Regions from separate parts of the Homo sapiens genome. Here regions 2, 3, 4 and 5 are each linked to region 1. The links are contacts of gene promoters, found by promoter capture Hi-C in blood cells and fetal thymus (Javierre and others, 2016). All regions are on one chromosome and are shown on one strand. Each heading gives the region's core, a stretch centred on a gene start or on the middle of the fragment in contact. The rest is flanking DNA. Distances are from core to core; before and after follow the strand shown. Region 1 holds the start of SNX19 (sorting nexin 19). Region 2 overlaps LOC399975 (a long non-coding RNA gene). Region 3 overlaps TMEM45B (transmembrane protein 45B). Region 4 overlaps NFRKB (nuclear factor related to kappaB binding protein). Region 5 holds the start of NFRKB (nuclear factor related to kappaB binding protein).

Region 1 (3,162 bases), core at 474-2,973:
TTCTCTTTGAACTGCCACAGGAAGTCTTCAGCACCGTCGGTAGTCCCTTCATCATTCACATTTCTGTTTTAGCTCCCAACTAGGTGGCAGGGACTTTTCTCCAGAGCATTGTTGCCATTTTCTAAGTGCTCCTGAGGACATTAGAATGGTCTGGGAAGGTAGAGGGGCAGAGCCCACTTCTCGGGTTCCTTTTCTGCGGGAAGGCAGGCAGCAGTGAAAAGGTATGGACCGTGAAACCGTGGATTCACATTCTGCCATCTCACGGGAGTGCCCAGTCTGCTTAGTGGACACTGATCCTAAATCAAACCATTTGCTTTAGAAGTGATGAATCGTAAACTACGGGTCACATCTAAATGATGGCTTCTTTCGTATTCAAAGGAAGTCTCTGCCCCAACAGCAGCAATGGACGAGACAGGAAGCTGCAACGCACTTCTTGTTGGCAGAGTTTTGGGTTGGGATTTGTTTGAAGATTCCTTTAAACATCTAGGGAGTAGTCCATGATGATGAAAGACTGCTCACAGCACAGAGAAGGTGGACGAAGGGCAACCATGAGCAGCTCTGTGCAAACGATGCGAATCCTATGCCTAAATGGAAAGGAGACCCACCCTGCGGGCACAGCTCCTAGGGCCCAAGGTGGACATGGAAGCTGGCTTCACGCAAAACTGACACTAACACTTTTGACACCTGGTCAGTGCTTCCGGTATTTTGTCTTCCTATAGGTTCCTGTGTAGACAAGTGAAGTCTAATTTGCTAAAACCAAAAACAATCCAACATAGAGCATATTCCAAAGCAAATATATTACAGGATTATCTGAAAGGACACCTCTATCTCTGCTTTCCTTTTCTATGTTTTTGGGGAGGATAAGGCGAGAAGAGATAGAGGGAAATAGAAACCCTCATCCTTGAAGACTCAGCAGAAAGGCACCTTTTCTGTGAGCTTCTCCTTAACCATTGCAACCCACAGTGATCTCTCCTTCCCCTGAATTCCTATAAGATTTTGTATTTTACTATATCGCACGCTGACTGGCATTACTAGATAGCCAATCGCGTTCAAAGCGCTGGCATCCCCAGTTAGCAGGAGGTCCTGGAGGACAAGGTCTGCTTCTATTCGTCCACGCTGCCTCTCACATTGAAGACAGCAGATGCTCAAAATATTTGATTGTTTGTGTAATGCCACCAGCAAATAACCCTCAATCACAAATTTGATTTTGTGATACAGTATATGAAATGTACAACATAAATCTATCTCTGTATCGTTTCATGCCTTATATTCTGCAATTCCTGACAACAAATGAGGGTCTTTGTGCTGGGGACGCGGGGTACCGGCTCTAGGGGAAACCGGATAAATGTTAAGACACATCAGGCCAATGAAACTTCGCCTCCATGAAATTAAAATAAACCGGATTATTGACAGCGTGCCTAAGCAGTAAAGGACAGGCTTCATTTAATAACCAGAACTAGGACGCGTTTTAAAGCGCCTGGAAGTCTGGGTCTTAGCGGTGATTGCTGCGGCGGCTGTTTCGTGGCACTTCGGAAATCTGCGCCAGCTCTTGGCGAGCACGCGCCCCGTGCGCGCTCAGGCTCACGCTCAGGCTCAGAGACTACCTCGCGCAGGGCCGTCAGGGCGGCTCCTCGCCAGCAGAGGGCGCCGGGCAGCGCCGCTCCTCGGGGCGCGCGCGGACGCTCTCCCAGCATGCCTCGCTCCCGTCGACGTCGACCCGGAAGCTGTCGCCGGCGGCCGGCCGGCGGTCAGCCTTCACACAGGCCCGGCTGCGGAGCGCAGTCGCCCAGGTTTACGGCGGCAGAGGGCCGAGGCTCCCGGAGAGGACCGCGATGAGTCCACTTCAGGTCGGGGCTGAGTGTGGGCGCGCGGTTCCCGGCGGCGTGTGACCCAGTCTTCGCCGGCCGCTGCCCGCTGCGTGTGTAAGTGTCCGTGGGCCCCAGGGCCTTGCAGCGCCCGCCCCGAGGCCCCGAAGAGGCCTTCCGCCTGGGGCAGTGTGAAGGCCACAGAGTTTTCCTCCAAAGCCACACCTCAGCTGGAAGGGGCGAGTTGGAGGGCTCTGTTAGTGGTAGCCATGGGGAGACGCGGAGCTGCAGCTGTCGCTTTGCAGTGCCTGTAGGACTTTGAGGGCCTGGAGCCCCGGTTCCCTGAACAGCACCCAGATCGCCCCATATCTGAGACACAGTTCATGCCCCCCTTCCCTAACTCTGAAGTAAAATCTTGAGGGCTGTCATCTGGGGAAGCCACCTTGTCCGTTCAGCCATGAAGACAGAAACAGTGCCACCGTTCCAGGAAACTCCAGCTGGATCGAGCTGTCACCTCAATAACCTGTTGAGTAGCCGGAAGCTGATGGCTGTGGGGGTCTTGCTTGGCTGGCTCCTGGTCATACACCTTCTGGTCAACGTGTGGCTGCTGTGCCTTCTGTCGGCATTGCTAGTGGTGCTGGGAGGATGGCTGGGCTCCAGCCTCGCTGGAGTGGCTTCAGGTCGACTGCATCTGGAACGCTTCATCCCGTTGGCCACCTGTCCTCCATGCCCTGAGGCAGAAAGGCAGCTGGAACGGGAGATCAACCGCACCATCCAGATGATTATTCGAGATTTTGTGTTATCTTGGTACCGTTCCGTGAGCCAGGAGCCAGCCTTTGAGGAAGAAATGGAGGCAGCCATGAAAGGGTTGGTCCAGGAGCTTCGGAGAAGGATGAGCGTGATGGACAGTCATGCTGTTGCCCAGAGTGTTCTGACTCTCTGCGGTTGTCACCTGCAGAGCTACATTCAGGCAAAGGAGGCCACTGCAGGGAAGAATGGTCCAGTTGAGCCTTCCCACCTCTGGGAGGCTTACTGCCGGGCGACTGCCCCACATCCTGCTGTGCACAGCCCCAGTGCTGAAGTCACCTATACGCGTGGCGTTGTGAATTTGTTGCTTCAAGGGCTGGTGCCCAAGCCCCACTTGGAGACTCGTACCGGACGCCATGTAGTGGTCGAACTCATCACATGCAATGTAATCTTACCACTGATCAGCAGGCTGTCAGATCCTGACTGGATCCACCTTGTACTCGTGGGTATCTTTTCCAAGGCCAGAGATCCAGCACCCTGCCCAGCCAGTGCCCCCGAACAGCCCTCAGTGCCGACATCTCTGCCACTGATTGCTGAGGTAGAGCAGCTT
Region 2 (3,162 bases), core at 237-2,736, 1.6 Mb after region 1:
GGCTAAATGGATGTGGACATAAGTGGTATGTGTGATTTCTGGGTTGTAGCCTTAGAAAGGAAGCTAATCGTTTTCTATTTTCTCTTTATCCCCTTTTGCAGATGAGAGTGTAGGATGTTAATGCACTGATGGGGCATATTATTCAACCTGCAAAGGTGAGGGCAATACCTTAGCGGGGGATGGATGAATAAGATGGATTTTTAGATGATCTTGTGGAGCAGAACTGCCTCCTAGCCTTGTACTTCTCATTTATCTTTGGGTGGTTAGGTGAGAGAGGAATAAAGTTTTATCTCTTGAGCTACTGATGCCTTAAATGAATAAATCACACCTTTTAAACCACCTTTACCTTGGGATCCCCTTCATTTACATTTATTGTCCTTTTTTTGTTTCCTTTTGCAGCAGAAATTTCAAGAGTTGTTTATATTTGCTGTACCTTCTTCTTCACCAGTGATTCTTTAGCCTGATCATTTGAGCTCATCATATGAATTACTCTTCCTGCCAGTGACTTCTTCCTCTCTCTCCCCCAAGTCTTTACCATTTCAGTAAGTGGCATCATCAGCCACCACTTGTGCAGGCCAGAACCCCTGGAGTCATCCTTATCCTTGATTTCTTTTTTTAATTGCACTCCAATGAAATTGTTTTTAATCAAGACTGCAGTGACCTGGATCTTGCCAAAGCTAGTGGTCAGTTCAATGTTTGTATCTTATTTGACCTCTCTCACCAGCATTTCACAGTGGCCAACTTTACTAGTTTTGACCTCTTAGTTGTTCATTCTCATTTTCTATATGCTTTTGCCAGTTTATCTCTACTTTCCCACTCCTTGAAAATTTGGAATGTCCCTCAGGTGATTTCATCCAATTTTTGGTTTCAAATACCATTTATATGCCGATGAGGCTCAAATTCTTATTTCTAGTACTGACTTTTTTCCCCCTTGCGCTCTAGACTCTTGTAACTCCATGCCTCTCCTTGGATGTCTAATGGATACCTCAAAGGCAGCATGAACAAAGGAGGGCTATGAATTACTCTTCCTGTTGGTGACTTCTTCCTCTACCTCCCCCAAGTCTTTACCATCTCAGTAAGTGGCATCATCATCCACCACTTGCGCAGGCCAGAACCCCGGATTCTTCCTCCTCCTTGATTTCTTTTTTTCCTCCTCATCTCATGTTAAGTCTGGTCACCTCCACCTTTATAATATAAACCGAACCTGACTACATCTCACTTTTTTCACTGGCAAAAACCTAGGCTAGGCTAGGCTAGTAGGCTTTGTCGTCTGGCAAACTGCCAGCAGACTTCCCTGCTTCTACTCCTGTCCTTGTCCTTCCCCTCATTCTTACCATACACGGGAGCCAAAATAATGTTAAACGTTAATCAGATCGTATCATTCTGCTTACTGGCTTTCCAATATACTTAATGCTAAAACAAAAACTTAACATTTTACCGTGGAAATAAACCCTTCATTTTGGTCGCTTATGAGGCTCCATATCAGTGGTTCTTAACCAGGGAAGATTTTCCCCTCAGGTGATGTCTGGAGACATTCTTGGTTGTCACAAATTGGGGTAGGTTGCCACTGGCATCTAGTGGGTAGAGGCCAAAGTGGCTGCTAAACATCCAACATCCAGTAATGCACAGGACAACTCCCAGCAGCAAAAAATTATGTGGTCCAAAATGTTTGTAATGTGTGATATGGCTCCTGGCTGCTTCTCTGCTCTCATCTTCTGCTCTCTCTTCTTTTCTTCTTTGTTCACTGAGCCACAGTCTCAGTGATGTTCCTTTTTTTTTTTAAGTAGACTATTTTTACGTTCACAGCAAAACCGAGCTAAAGGTGCAGAAGTTTCCTGTATACCCCTTGTCTTTACACATATGCAGCTTCCCCCATTATCAGCATCCCACATCAGAGTCGCATATTTGTTACAGTTGATGAGCCTACATTGAAACATCATTATCACCCGAAGTCCATAGGTTACATTAGGATTCACTCATTTTTCCCACTTGTTCTGAGAGGAGAAAAAAAAAAAAGACTGACTCTTGGTGTTGTACCTTCTATGGATTTGGACAAATTAATAATGACATGTATCCACATCATAGTATCTTATAGAGTAGTTTGACTCTGCTGAAAATCATCTGTGATTTGGCTATTCATCCCTCCCTCTCCCCAGCCCCTGTCAACCACCAGCCTTTTTACTGTTTCCATACTTTTGCCTTTTCCAGAATGTCATATAGTTAGAATCATAGAGTATGTAGCCTCTTCAGACTAGCTTCTTTCACTTAGGATAAACATTTAAGTTTCTTCCCTGTCTTTTCGTGGCTTGATTGTTCATTTCTTTTTTATTGCTGAGTAATATTCCATTGTCTGGATATACTACAGTTTATTTATTCATTCACCTGCTGAAGGACATCCTAGTTGCTCCTAAGTTTTGGCAGCTCTGGATAAAGTTGCTACAAGCATCTGGGTGTGGTTTTTTTTTTTTAATAAGTAAGTTTTCATCTTGTGTAAATACCTAAGCATGCGATTGCGGGATCATATGTTAAGAATAAGTTTAGTTTTGCAAGAAACTGCAACACTGTCTTCCCAAGTGGCTGTGCCATTTTACAACCTCACCAATAGTGAATGAGAGTTCCTGTTGTCCCACATCCTTGTCCACATTTGGTGTTGTCAGTGTTTTAAATTTTGGCCATACTTATGGGTGTGTGGTATATGACATTGTTTCTTCCCTTTGAATAAAAGCACGTTCTGTCTTAGGGATTTGTGTTTGCTGTTCCTTTTACTTAAAATGACTTATTTTTAATTTTTTTTAGAGACAGGGTTTTACTCTGTCACCCAGGATGGAGTGATCATAGCTCGTTGTAACCTCGAACTCCTGGGCTCAGGTGATCCTCCTACGTCAGCCTTCCAAGGAGCTAAGACTATAGGTGCGTGCCACTGTGCCGGGCTAATTTTTGTAATTTTTGTAGAGACGAAGTCTCTCTATGTTGTCCAGGCTGGTGTCAAACTCTTGGGTTCAAAGGATCCACCTGCCTCAGCCTCTCAAAGTGTTGGGATTATAGGCGTGAGTTATGGCGCCTGGCCATGTACTTCTTTTAAGTCTCGTCATGGCTGCCTTCGTCCTCTCCCAGAGAGACCATCATGATTACCTGTATATGTAGCACCCCCACCTCTTTCTT
Region 3 (3,162 bases), core at 213-2,712, 1.1 Mb after region 1:
GACTGGCACGGGATGAGGTTGGCAGTGGGGAGAGGTAGGATGCAGTGCGGGGAAATGGGCCTTTCCACCTGAGAAAGGCGAGTGTGTCTGCGTTTGATAATCCTTTGATATTTGCGTATCTGTTATTTTCAAGAATCACATTTCACATAGAAAGCCATGTGACAGTTTTTAAATTAAAAAAAAAAAAAGGTAGAAATTCCAGAGATCTTGTCTTAGGTATTTACTGCCAGCTACAAACAAACCCCTTTTGAATTTACTTAACAAGGAATTTAATAAAAGTAGCTCTGGCATTCAGCCGCAGCCCTGCCCACATTCCTGTTAGCTGAGGTCACCTGACTCTGCTTGTCGTTTTTGCACAGGCAGACGTGTGCATTCTGGAGAGCAGGGAGTGAGTGTAAAGTTTAGGCTGCGTCAGGATGCTGACTCCTCAGAAGTGTAACTTCGGCACTATCCAGCCTGTGGGTGGAATGGCAATAGCGGAGAATGGGAACTTCCTACTGGAGCTGTTTACGGTGACAGCCCAGGATTTGTGCCACACTTGCTTCCTTCATATGCTGGCTTCAGGTTTCTGATAGATGAATGGCACAGCTATGGTGAGTGTTTTGTTTTTGTTTTTGTTTTTGAGATGGAGTCTCACTCTGTAGCCCAGGCTGGAGTGCAGCGGCAAGATCTCAGCTCACTGCAACCTCCGCCTCCTGGGTTCAAGTGATTCTCCTGCCTCAGCCTCCTGAGTAGTTGGGATCAATCACAGGCACGTGCCACCACGCCCTGCTAATTTTTGTATTTTTGGTAGAAATGGGGTTTCACCATTTTGGCTAGGCTGGTCTCCAACTTGTCACCTCAGGTGATCTGTCTGCCTCAGCCTCCCAAAGTGCTGGGATTACAGGCGTGAGCCACTGCACCCAGCCATGGTGGGTGTTTTGTAGGGAACAATTTCAAAAGGACTTCTGGTGGCAACCATTGAGCCTCTGGTTGACAGATATGGGTAAAATTATTCAGAAAACATATCTAAGACAGGATGTGGAGAATAGTACTGTCATCAGTTTATACTTTAATACCACATCTAACAATGTTTATGATAGGGTTGATCACTTCCATGAAGGCATCACAAGCCTTGCTGTGTGAAGGGCATCTGAATACATTTTAATATTTTATATCTGTTCTTCACACCTTAGCCCCTCACTCTGGAGAAAATAGTACATTTTCTTTCTTAAAATATGGTACACTTAAAGAAACCTCAAATGTGGATCTTTTCTTTGAAAGTAAAACTGAACAGGTCCTTCTGCCCACCTGCAGTCCCCAAGGAAAGAACACATGTTACGTTCATTGCCAATAATAGGTCCTTCAGTACTTGTTGAATGAAGAATACTTGTGTTTTTCCACTGGCCAACCAAGGTGGATCCTGAAAGTGGAACCCGGAGTTCTCTAATAACTAAATTAGTGTTTTTAGTAGCTCATTTTGAATCCCTAAGCTGTGACTTCAACTCTGAAAGGCTGGCTAACTCTGGGAGGTTACCTTCACTTAATTAAGTACAGCATTTCTTCCAAAGCGCATGCAGTGCTTTATGTAAATTCTCTCTCCTGGATTTGTGTGACGTAGCAGGGTTAGAATGGTGAGACAGATGCCTGGTTTTGGAGTCATAAGACTGGCTTTGCCACCTAGCATCTGTGTGGTCTTAGGCCAGCCAACTTTTCTTTTTTTTTGAGATGGAGTCTCACTCTGTTGCCAGATTGGAGTGCAGTGGCATAATCTCGGCTCACTGTGCAACCTCCGCCTACTGGGTTCAAGTGATTCTCCTGCCTCAGCCTCCCAAGTAGCTGGGACTACAGGTGCTCACCACCACACCAAGCTAATTTTTATATTTTTAGTAGAGACAGGGTTTCACCATGTTGGCCAGGATGGTCTCGATCTCTTGACCTCATGATCCACCCGCCTCGGCCTCCAAAAGTGCTGGGATTACAGGCGTGAGCCACCGCGCCCTGCTAGGCCAGCCAGCTTTTCTGAAAGACCTCATGCTCTTACACATTACAAGCGGTTGTGAGAATCAAATGAGATAGGGTGCATCTCAGAATCTGAAAAATACTATGCACACGGAAAGTATTATTTGGTCTCTAAGGCCCATCAACTTGGTCCTAACTCACTTTTATCAGTTTGTAGAACTTAATCTTTTTAAGTTCTCCGTATTTTTTTATGCTTTCATTTTTTAATGTGCTACCCTCTCTACCTGGGATGTGCTTTTTCTACAGGGCAAGCTCTGCATTTCCCCTCCTCTCCTTTTTCTCATCGTGGTTTGTACTTGCCTCTCAGCACCCATCACACTGGATGTAACTACAGGCATGTCTCTCCTGTTTGACTGTAAACTCCTTGCTGGACACATATCTCAGGAGTCCTTACAGCCATTTCAGTGCTGTTGCAAAGTGGATATTTAATAAATATTTGTTGAAGGAAGTCTGTTTGCTTGTTTTTGAGACAGAGTCTTGCTCTGTCACCTAGGCTGGAGTACAGTGGCATGATCTGGGCTCACTGCAAGCTCCCCTACCGGGTTCATGCCATTCTCTTGCCTCAGCCTCCCGAGTAGCTGGAACTACAGGCGCCCGCCACCACACCCGGCTAATTTTTTGTATTTTCAGTAGAGACGGGGTTTCACCATGTTAGCCAGGATGGTCTTGATCTCCTGACCCCGTGATCTGCCTGCCTCGGCCTCCCAAAGTGCTAGGATTATAGGCGCGGTGAAGGAAGTTTTTTTAAAAAAAGAACAGATCCAGAAGCAAGATTAGGGTATCAAGATTTTACATTACTAATTCTGAATTCGTTATCCTTTGCTTTCAGCCATATTAAAACTGAAAGCCTTCCATACCTGACGTTTTTCTATCTCATTATACAGCTTTCCTGTCAGATCTTCTTTTAGGGTGACTTTGAAGAATCAGAACATCAGGGCTCCAACTCTCAGTAGAGCCAGTAACCAGCTTCCTGATTTAAAAAAAAATCACCTTTGGCCTAATTTTGTCACTTATAAACAGTGGTATTGCAGTACCCTGGTATGATTAGTTATGATATGTTTAACAATAATTTTAAAATACCAAAGCTTGTGAATTATTTTACTTTCAAAAAATATGTAAGTTAGAATTGTAATTCTAAAGGCACTGTCGTTTGCTTACACA
Region 4 (3,162 bases), core at 444-2,943, 1.0 Mb after region 1:
GCAGTGGATGTGTGAAGGATTGTTGCTACAGCTCCTGATAGAATCTCTCTGTGTTGTAGTTACAGCTAGTAAAGAGAAAGCAGGATTCTCAATAATACCTTAGACCTTCTTATTTTTTTATCTCTTTATTCCTCTAATAGGCCAATCCCAAGATAATGAAAAGGAATTAGCTGCCCTCTTCCAGCTATGGCTAGAGACCAAAGATCAGGCCTTCTGTAAGGTATGTTTTTTTAAGAAATACCAGATCCTTCTCACTGGGTTTCCAGAGCTCTTAAGTTTGCCCAAATTCTTTAGTCCATTTACCTGTCAACGTTTTCTTTTTCTCCAGCAAGAAAATGAAGACAGCTCAGATGCCACAACACCTGTCCCTCGGGTGTGAGTACAATACTGTAGTGGTGGGTGGTGTCCTGGGAAACTGTAGTTCAGATACTGCCTTGGTTTTGTTAATACTTCTTGGTATGCTAGAGCTGTAATGGGCTTCAGAGCTCTGAGGAGTCCCCTGGTTCTTCCTGACTTGGCCGCACCCCCTGAGTGAACGGGACTCCTTGTGGAAGGGGCTGTGGTGGAGAGAGGGGACGGCAGGAGAGCCTCTAAGGGGCATATGACCTGCTTTGTAGGTGGACATACTTTTTTAATGTGTACTCCTCCCTGGGCTCCTACTTGAGAATTATTCATCTAGGCCATCTTAGTCCAGTAAATGGAAGCATGAAGTTGAGTGACTTGCTGAAGGTTAGCAGCAGGACCCCAGCTAGAACTTAGATCTCTTGACTCTTAGTCCTAGGCTCTTTATATCACATTGTCCCATGTTTCTTTTTCTTCCCTGGCATGGTTCGGTAGTTTTCTGACACCAGGACAGAGGCCCGGTCTAAGTGTGGCAGAACTTTTGCTTCATGTAATAGAGGTGTAGATCTCAAGCCCCGGGTACTTTCCCTGGAGGTAGAAAAACAACCCTTATCTAACACACCTGAAGCCCTTTGTTCCTCTAAGGCCGAATTGTTTGTTGCCTTTAGAACGGACCTACTTAACAGCAATATTGAAAGCAGTAGTTAAAGATGTCAGCCTCTTGTCCATCTATCCACCCAGTACCTTTCTGGGTTTCTAAGAATCAAGTGATTTTGGAATTACCAACAGGAGTTACTTCGTAGGAGCTGGAAGGTGGGCTCTTCGCCTTTGTAAGAATTGAGTGCTTCTTGAGGGACATCTTTCCATGTCACAGTGGGAATGGTTCTGAAGCAGGGGCAATGGGTCTGACACACGTGCCAGCTGTCAGGGTTGATACAGAATTCTTTATATTCCAGAAGAACTGACTATGTGGTGCGTCCCAGCACGGGGGAGGAGAAACGGGTTTTTCAGGAGCAGGTAAGAACCTAAAAGCCAGTGTAAGTCTCTGCCTCTGTGAGCCATGCAGAGAGATGCTCTGAGCCTGACTCTCCTGCATCTACCTTCTTGCAAGAAACTCATACCTTTCCCCTTAGACCTTCTGTTGGCTGGGATTACTTGTTGGGGGTGGAAACGGTGTGGGGAAGGGGAGTAAGAAATACTTGGATGATCTTGTCTTCCAGGTAGCAAAGTGCCTTCATATTACCTCCTTGTCCCTCTGCTCAGTGACTGGCTCTGAGAACCATCCTTTTCCCACTGTGGTTGGCTGAACATTCCTACTAGAATCATAGAATCACTTGTTCCTTCCTGTTTTAATTGTTCCATGTGGATCTGCTTATATTGTAAGGAAGCCCGAGAGAGAACCCCACTAATTCTGACCTAGAACTCTTGTCCCTTGTCTCTTGGTAGGAGCGTTACAGGTATAGCCAACCCCATAAGGCGTTCACCTTTCGCATGCACGGCTTTGAGTCTGTGGTGGGGCCAGTGAAGGGCGTGTTTGACAAGGAGACCTCGCTCAACAAGGCTCGGGAGCACTCCCTGCTGCGCTCCGACCGGCCTGCCTACGTCACCATTCTGTCTCTTGGTAGGTGGCACGTGTCGATTATCAGAGATCCCTTTCTTCACCCCGCAGCTTTTCTCTTACCAACTCTGAACTCTGTCCTCTCCTTACCCCTCCACCCAGGGTAGGCTTTGAGAACAAGGCATAGTTTTTCAAAGCATTGCAGTTTGGGAGCTGAAGGGGACATCTTCAGCTCCCAGTCTTCTTCCTTAAGTCTGGGCTTACATTTATGTTCATTTAGGAGTTGCTCCCAGACCAGCTAAATAGGTTAAATACAGGAATTTGCTTTCTCCAGGCTATGCTTCATTTAACAGTGAGGATTCTTAGCTTTTTGAATGCCAGGAATCCCTTTGGCAGTCTGGTGGAACTTGTGGACCCCTTCTCAGAGTTATGCTTTTAAATGTATGAAATAAAATACAGTTACAAAAGAGACCAGTTGTTTTGAAGTAGTTATCAAAATGTTAAAACAAGTTTATGGTGCAGAAATATGTGTTGTTACTATGATGTTATATGACAAGATCTAGCAGGAGGTCTGACATTTCTTGAAATTTCCAAGTAGTGATGAGTATAAATGATATTCTTAGCTATCTGCAGTAGCTGTAATATATGAAAATGTCTGATTTCTATTACACCATCACAGCACTGCAGTATATGGTTTGTTCCCTTTGTTCATAATTAAAGGAAATACTTAATTTCAGTTTAAGATGTAATTTTGCTTCCCACCTGAGTTCACAGGCCCTCTGAATTCTTAAGGTGTTACCTAAAAGTGACTCTTAAAAGTGTGTAAGGGCTGGATGCGATGGCTCATGCATGTAATCCCAGCACTTTGGGAGGCCAAGGCAGGCGGATCACCTGAGCTCAGGAGTTCAAGACCAGCCTGGTCAACGTGATGAAACCCTGTCTCTACTAAAAATCCAAAAATCAGCTGGACATGGTGGTGCACGGCTGTAATCCCAGCTACTAGGGAGGCTGAGGCAGGAGGATTGCTTGAACCTGGGAGGTGGAGGTTGCAGTGAGCTGAGATCACGCCCTTGCACCTCAACCTGGGTGACAAGAGCGAAACTGTCTCAAAAAAAAAAAAAAAAAAAAAAAGAAGTGTATAGGGAACTCCAGTGGCTGAGCTGCCAGCTGCTGGAGGGCAGAGTGCACCTAATCCGGCATCAGGGAAGGTAGAGGAGCAGGAACCCCAGGCAGCTTTGCCCATCACTGCAGGTACAGGAGAT
Region 5 (3,162 bases), core at 663-3,162, 1.0 Mb after region 1:
ATTCCTGGGCTCAAGTGATCCACCCATCTCAGCCTCTCAAAGGGGAAGATCCTGGGCATTGGGACTGAGGTGTTTTTGATACGTTCATGCAAAGATGCCTGGAGTGGGTGGTTGGATTTCTGGGTTGTTTGATTCATAATTGCTTGATTCATAATTGCCAAAACCTGGAAACAATGAAGATATCTTTCAGTAAGCGAATAGATAAAACTGTGATATATCGACACAATGGAATATTATTCAGCACTAAAAAGAAATAGGAGCTATCAAGCCATGAAAAGACATGGAGGAAACTTCAATGCCTGTTACTACGGGAAGGAAGCCAATCTGAAACGGCTACATACTATGTAATTCCAACTAGATGACACTCTGGAAAAAGGCAAAACTATGGAGACAAAAAGATCAGCGGTTGCCAGGGGTAGAGGAGAGGGAGAGATGAATATGCAGAGCACAGATGATTTTTAAGACAGTGAAATTACTCTGCATTATACTGTGATGGTGGGTAATGATGTATCAATGTAGGTTCATCAGTTCTTTTGTTTGAGATGGAGTCTCGCTCTGTCTCGCTCTGTCGACAGGCTGGAGTGCAATGGCTCAATCTCGGCTCACTGCAACCTCCGCCTCCCCGGTTCAAGCAATTCTCCTGCCTCAGCTCCCGAGTAGCTGGGACTACAGGTGCCCGCCACCACGACCGGCGAATTTTTGTATTTTTAGTAGAGACGCGGTTTCACCATGTTGGCCAGGATGGTCTCGATCTCCTGATCTCGGGATCCGCCCGCCTCGGCCTCCCAAAGTGTTGGGATTACAGGCGTGAGCCACCAGGCCGGGCCGGGTTCATCAGTTCTAAGAAATGTACCACTCTGGTAGAGGATGTTGATAAAGGGAAGGCGATGCATGTGGGGAGGTGGGGCGGGGAGTATTTGGAAAATATCTTTCTGCTCAATTTTGTTAACTTTAAACCACTTTAAAAAAACAAAGTCTATCAAAAATTATAGTTTACATTGTTTTTACTCTTTTTCTCTTTCTGGTCTTGTCACAATCTCAAGGTAAGGGAAATATCGGTGACAACTATAGAGTGATATTCCACTGCCATTTATACTCGATAGTTTCTAATTCAAGAGCCTCTCAACAGTGTAACAGGAACTTAGAGCATATGTGGAGCCAGTAGAGGAACAGAGATCGGGTTGTTTGGAAACTACTCTCTTCCAGGAAGGGAAGAACATTAGCTCGGCCGGCCGGCTTCTCTGGTCCCATCCACACACAGAACTGAGGATGGTCTCTGCGCCACTGCTGGGAGTACCTGGAATAAGTAGTGTGAAGCCGTACTAAGCAAAACCCAGTGAATAACAGGAAAGGGGCCTTCATATCTAAGAAGAGGAAAATGATGGAGTTTAACTTTAAAATGTGATCCTTCGATGTGTTTACATTCTTTCTGGACATCGAGGGCCCGGGGACGGGAAGGAGGAATGAAGGAACTCGGAAGCACAGGCTGAGGTCGCGTTCTACTCATGTCCTCAACTGTAAAATGGGCACTAATAGTGCATAGCTCACAGGGCTGCAGCACAAAGACGGTGGGTAGAAAGTGCTTAGCATAGGGCCTGGGGCAGGGTATGCTCTCTGCAAACGTCAGCTAATAGACGTGCCTTCGCTCACGGGCTATGGAACTTTGATTCGCGGTCAGGCAAAGACAGGCACTGTCTGGGGCCTCTGGAAGCTCCTAAATCAGGTGAGACGCGCAAGCAGGCTGGAACCTGCATCCCCAGGCCCAGCCGCGCGCAGGCACCCTCGCCGACCCTCCGCTCTCCCGAGCCGCTCCAGGACCCGCCCGCTGTGGCCCCGCCCCGGCACCCTCCAGGCCCCGCCCCGCGCTGCCCCGCCCCTTCCGCCGCGCAGGCCCAGAGCGTGCGCGCACCCAGACTCCTTGCGGGAGCGAGTGCGTCTGGGAGCCCGCGGCCGGAGAAGGGCTGCGGGTTAGGGGGCCGGCGCCCGCGGTTCAGGTGAGGGCGGGCAAGGGGCGGCGAAAGGGTTGAAGTGTCTCCTGGGAGTGGAGGGAGCGGGAGCGGGCGGCTGGGTCCGCGAGGTCGCTGCCCGTGTGGGCGTGGGGAGCGGGAGCGGGGCGTGGGGAGCGGTGCGACGCGTGAGGCTGGGGGTTAGGGTTAGGCACGGCGTGGGGGAGGGGCGGGGCCGAGCCGTGCAGTTCTGAGGATTGGACCCGGGCCTTGGGCCAGCCGGGCTGGCACCGGAGGGGAATTTGCTGCAGAGTTGAGGGCTTTGGAGCCGGCGGTTGCTCTGGAAGGACCCGAGGGTTTAGCTTCTGCGTTGGGGAGGGTCCAGCGGGGAAAGTTAGACCAGGTGCTGAAAGCCAGTGATGAGAGGCCGAGAGGCCTTCGTGGTCTAGTGAAGAGGTTCAGAACGCCCGAAGATCTGGAAATCCTTGGCTTCCGGGGTCCAACTCCCTGGCAGCTGCCTGGTTTTGGTATTTTGAGATTCTGTTCAGAATAGTGGCAGTGCAAAGGTTGTCAGTGGACTAGATTAACTTTAGCTAGACACGCACCGTCACTGAAGAAACTTGTGAGCAAGTTGTATAGAGACCTCCTAAGAGGCAGGTAGGACACTGACTTTGCAGTTGATAGTCTGTTCTATGCCAGTTCTGTTAAGAAGGTTTTATTCTGAGCATCAGGTTGCTTCTGCAATTTTTTTTTGGTGCTATTTTGAAGTTTTGTTAAACTCACATGCTATGTGCTGTCTCACCCGCTTCACTTATTTAGGCATAGGCATGATGAGGATGTCATTTCACCATGTGCTGAAGGGTGATGAGGGGGCACAGTTGCTTGGGGACCACCCACGTGACTTGACTCAACGCTTAAGTTTCTGCTATATCTTTACATGGATCTGAAATCTCTTCAAGGGAGCTTGAAATAATTTAGTGGAACATGCTTCATTTTACATATAGTTATTCTAGAACTGTTCTTTATCATTGGAGAATTTTGGAAAAGAAAAGTACCTGTATTACGTAATTCACACTGTCACTCATCTAGAGATTATTCATTGCAGGATTCCAGAATTGGAAATAACGGGAGGGAGGACCTGGTCCAGCTTCCCTTCCTCAAATAAGGAAATTGACACCTGGCGTGGTAAGATTTGTGGAATGTGGTGTTTGTGGAA

What was found. The method cuts DNA at HindIII sites, captures the fragments that hold promoters and counts their contacts. A CHiCAGO score of 5 or more calls a contact.
Region 2: a contact is called between a fragment that was not itself captured here and the fragment with the promoter of SNX19 in region 1, in 1 of 17 cell types (total B cells). The highest score is 5.2, in total B cells.
Region 3: a contact is called between a fragment that was not itself captured here and the fragment with the promoter of SNX19 in region 1, in 1 of 17 cell types (neutrophils). The highest score is 6.4, in neutrophils.
Region 4: a contact is called between a fragment that was not itself captured here and the fragment with the promoter of SNX19 in region 1, in 2 of 17 cell types (total B cells and fetal thymus). The highest score is 8.7, in total B cells.
Region 5: a contact is called between the fragment with the promoter of NFRKB here and the fragment with the promoter of SNX19 in region 1, in 2 of 17 cell types (total B cells and naive B cells). The highest score is 6.7, in total B cells.

What each region holds. Positions count from the first base shown.
Region 1 is chr11:130,915,040-130,918,201 of GRCh38, reverse strand. It overlaps SNX19 (sorting nexin 19), which reads left to right and starts at 1,723. Exons shown (of 11, transcript NM_014758.3): 1 at 1,723-3,162. The coding sequence starts at 2,263. RefSeq lists a silencer at 1,531-1,810 and an enhancer at 1,931-1,980. The HindIII fragment of the contact is 12,734 bases long and covers 1-3,162 here.
Region 2 is chr11:129,269,350-129,272,511 of GRCh38, reverse strand. The region is part of intron 1 of LOC399975 (a long non-coding RNA gene); the gene reads left to right. It also overlaps a transcript of ARHGAP32 not described here. Among named protein-coding and RNA genes, the nearest start is that of ARHGAP32, 79 kb to the right of the region's middle. The HindIII fragment of the contact is 6,455 bases long and covers 1-3,162 here.
Region 3 is chr11:129,859,124-129,862,285 of GRCh38, reverse strand. It overlaps TMEM45B (transmembrane protein 45B), which reads right to left. Exons shown (of 6, transcript NM_138788.5): 6 at 2,283-3,162. Among named protein-coding and RNA genes, the nearest start is that of NFRKB, 35 kb to the left of the region's middle. RefSeq lists enhancers at 158-452, 1-558. The HindIII fragment of the contact is 3,252 bases long and covers 1-3,088 here.
Region 4 is chr11:129,875,522-129,878,683 of GRCh38, reverse strand. NFRKB (nuclear factor related to kappaB binding protein) reads left to right here. Exons shown (of 27, transcript NM_001143835.2): 14 at 141-220; 15 at 329-375; 16 at 1,299-1,359; 17 at 1,789-1,963. Among named protein-coding and RNA genes, the nearest start is that of NFRKB, 18 kb to the left of the region's middle. The HindIII fragment of the contact is 4,077 bases long and covers 1-3,162 here.
Region 5 is chr11:129,894,328-129,897,489 of GRCh38, reverse strand. NFRKB (nuclear factor related to kappaB binding protein) reads left to right here and starts at 1,912. Exons shown (of 27, transcript NM_001143835.2): 1 at 1,912-1,994; 2 at 3,052-3,131. RefSeq lists a silencer at 1,756-2,195. The HindIII fragment of the contact is 7,376 bases long and covers 1-3,162 here.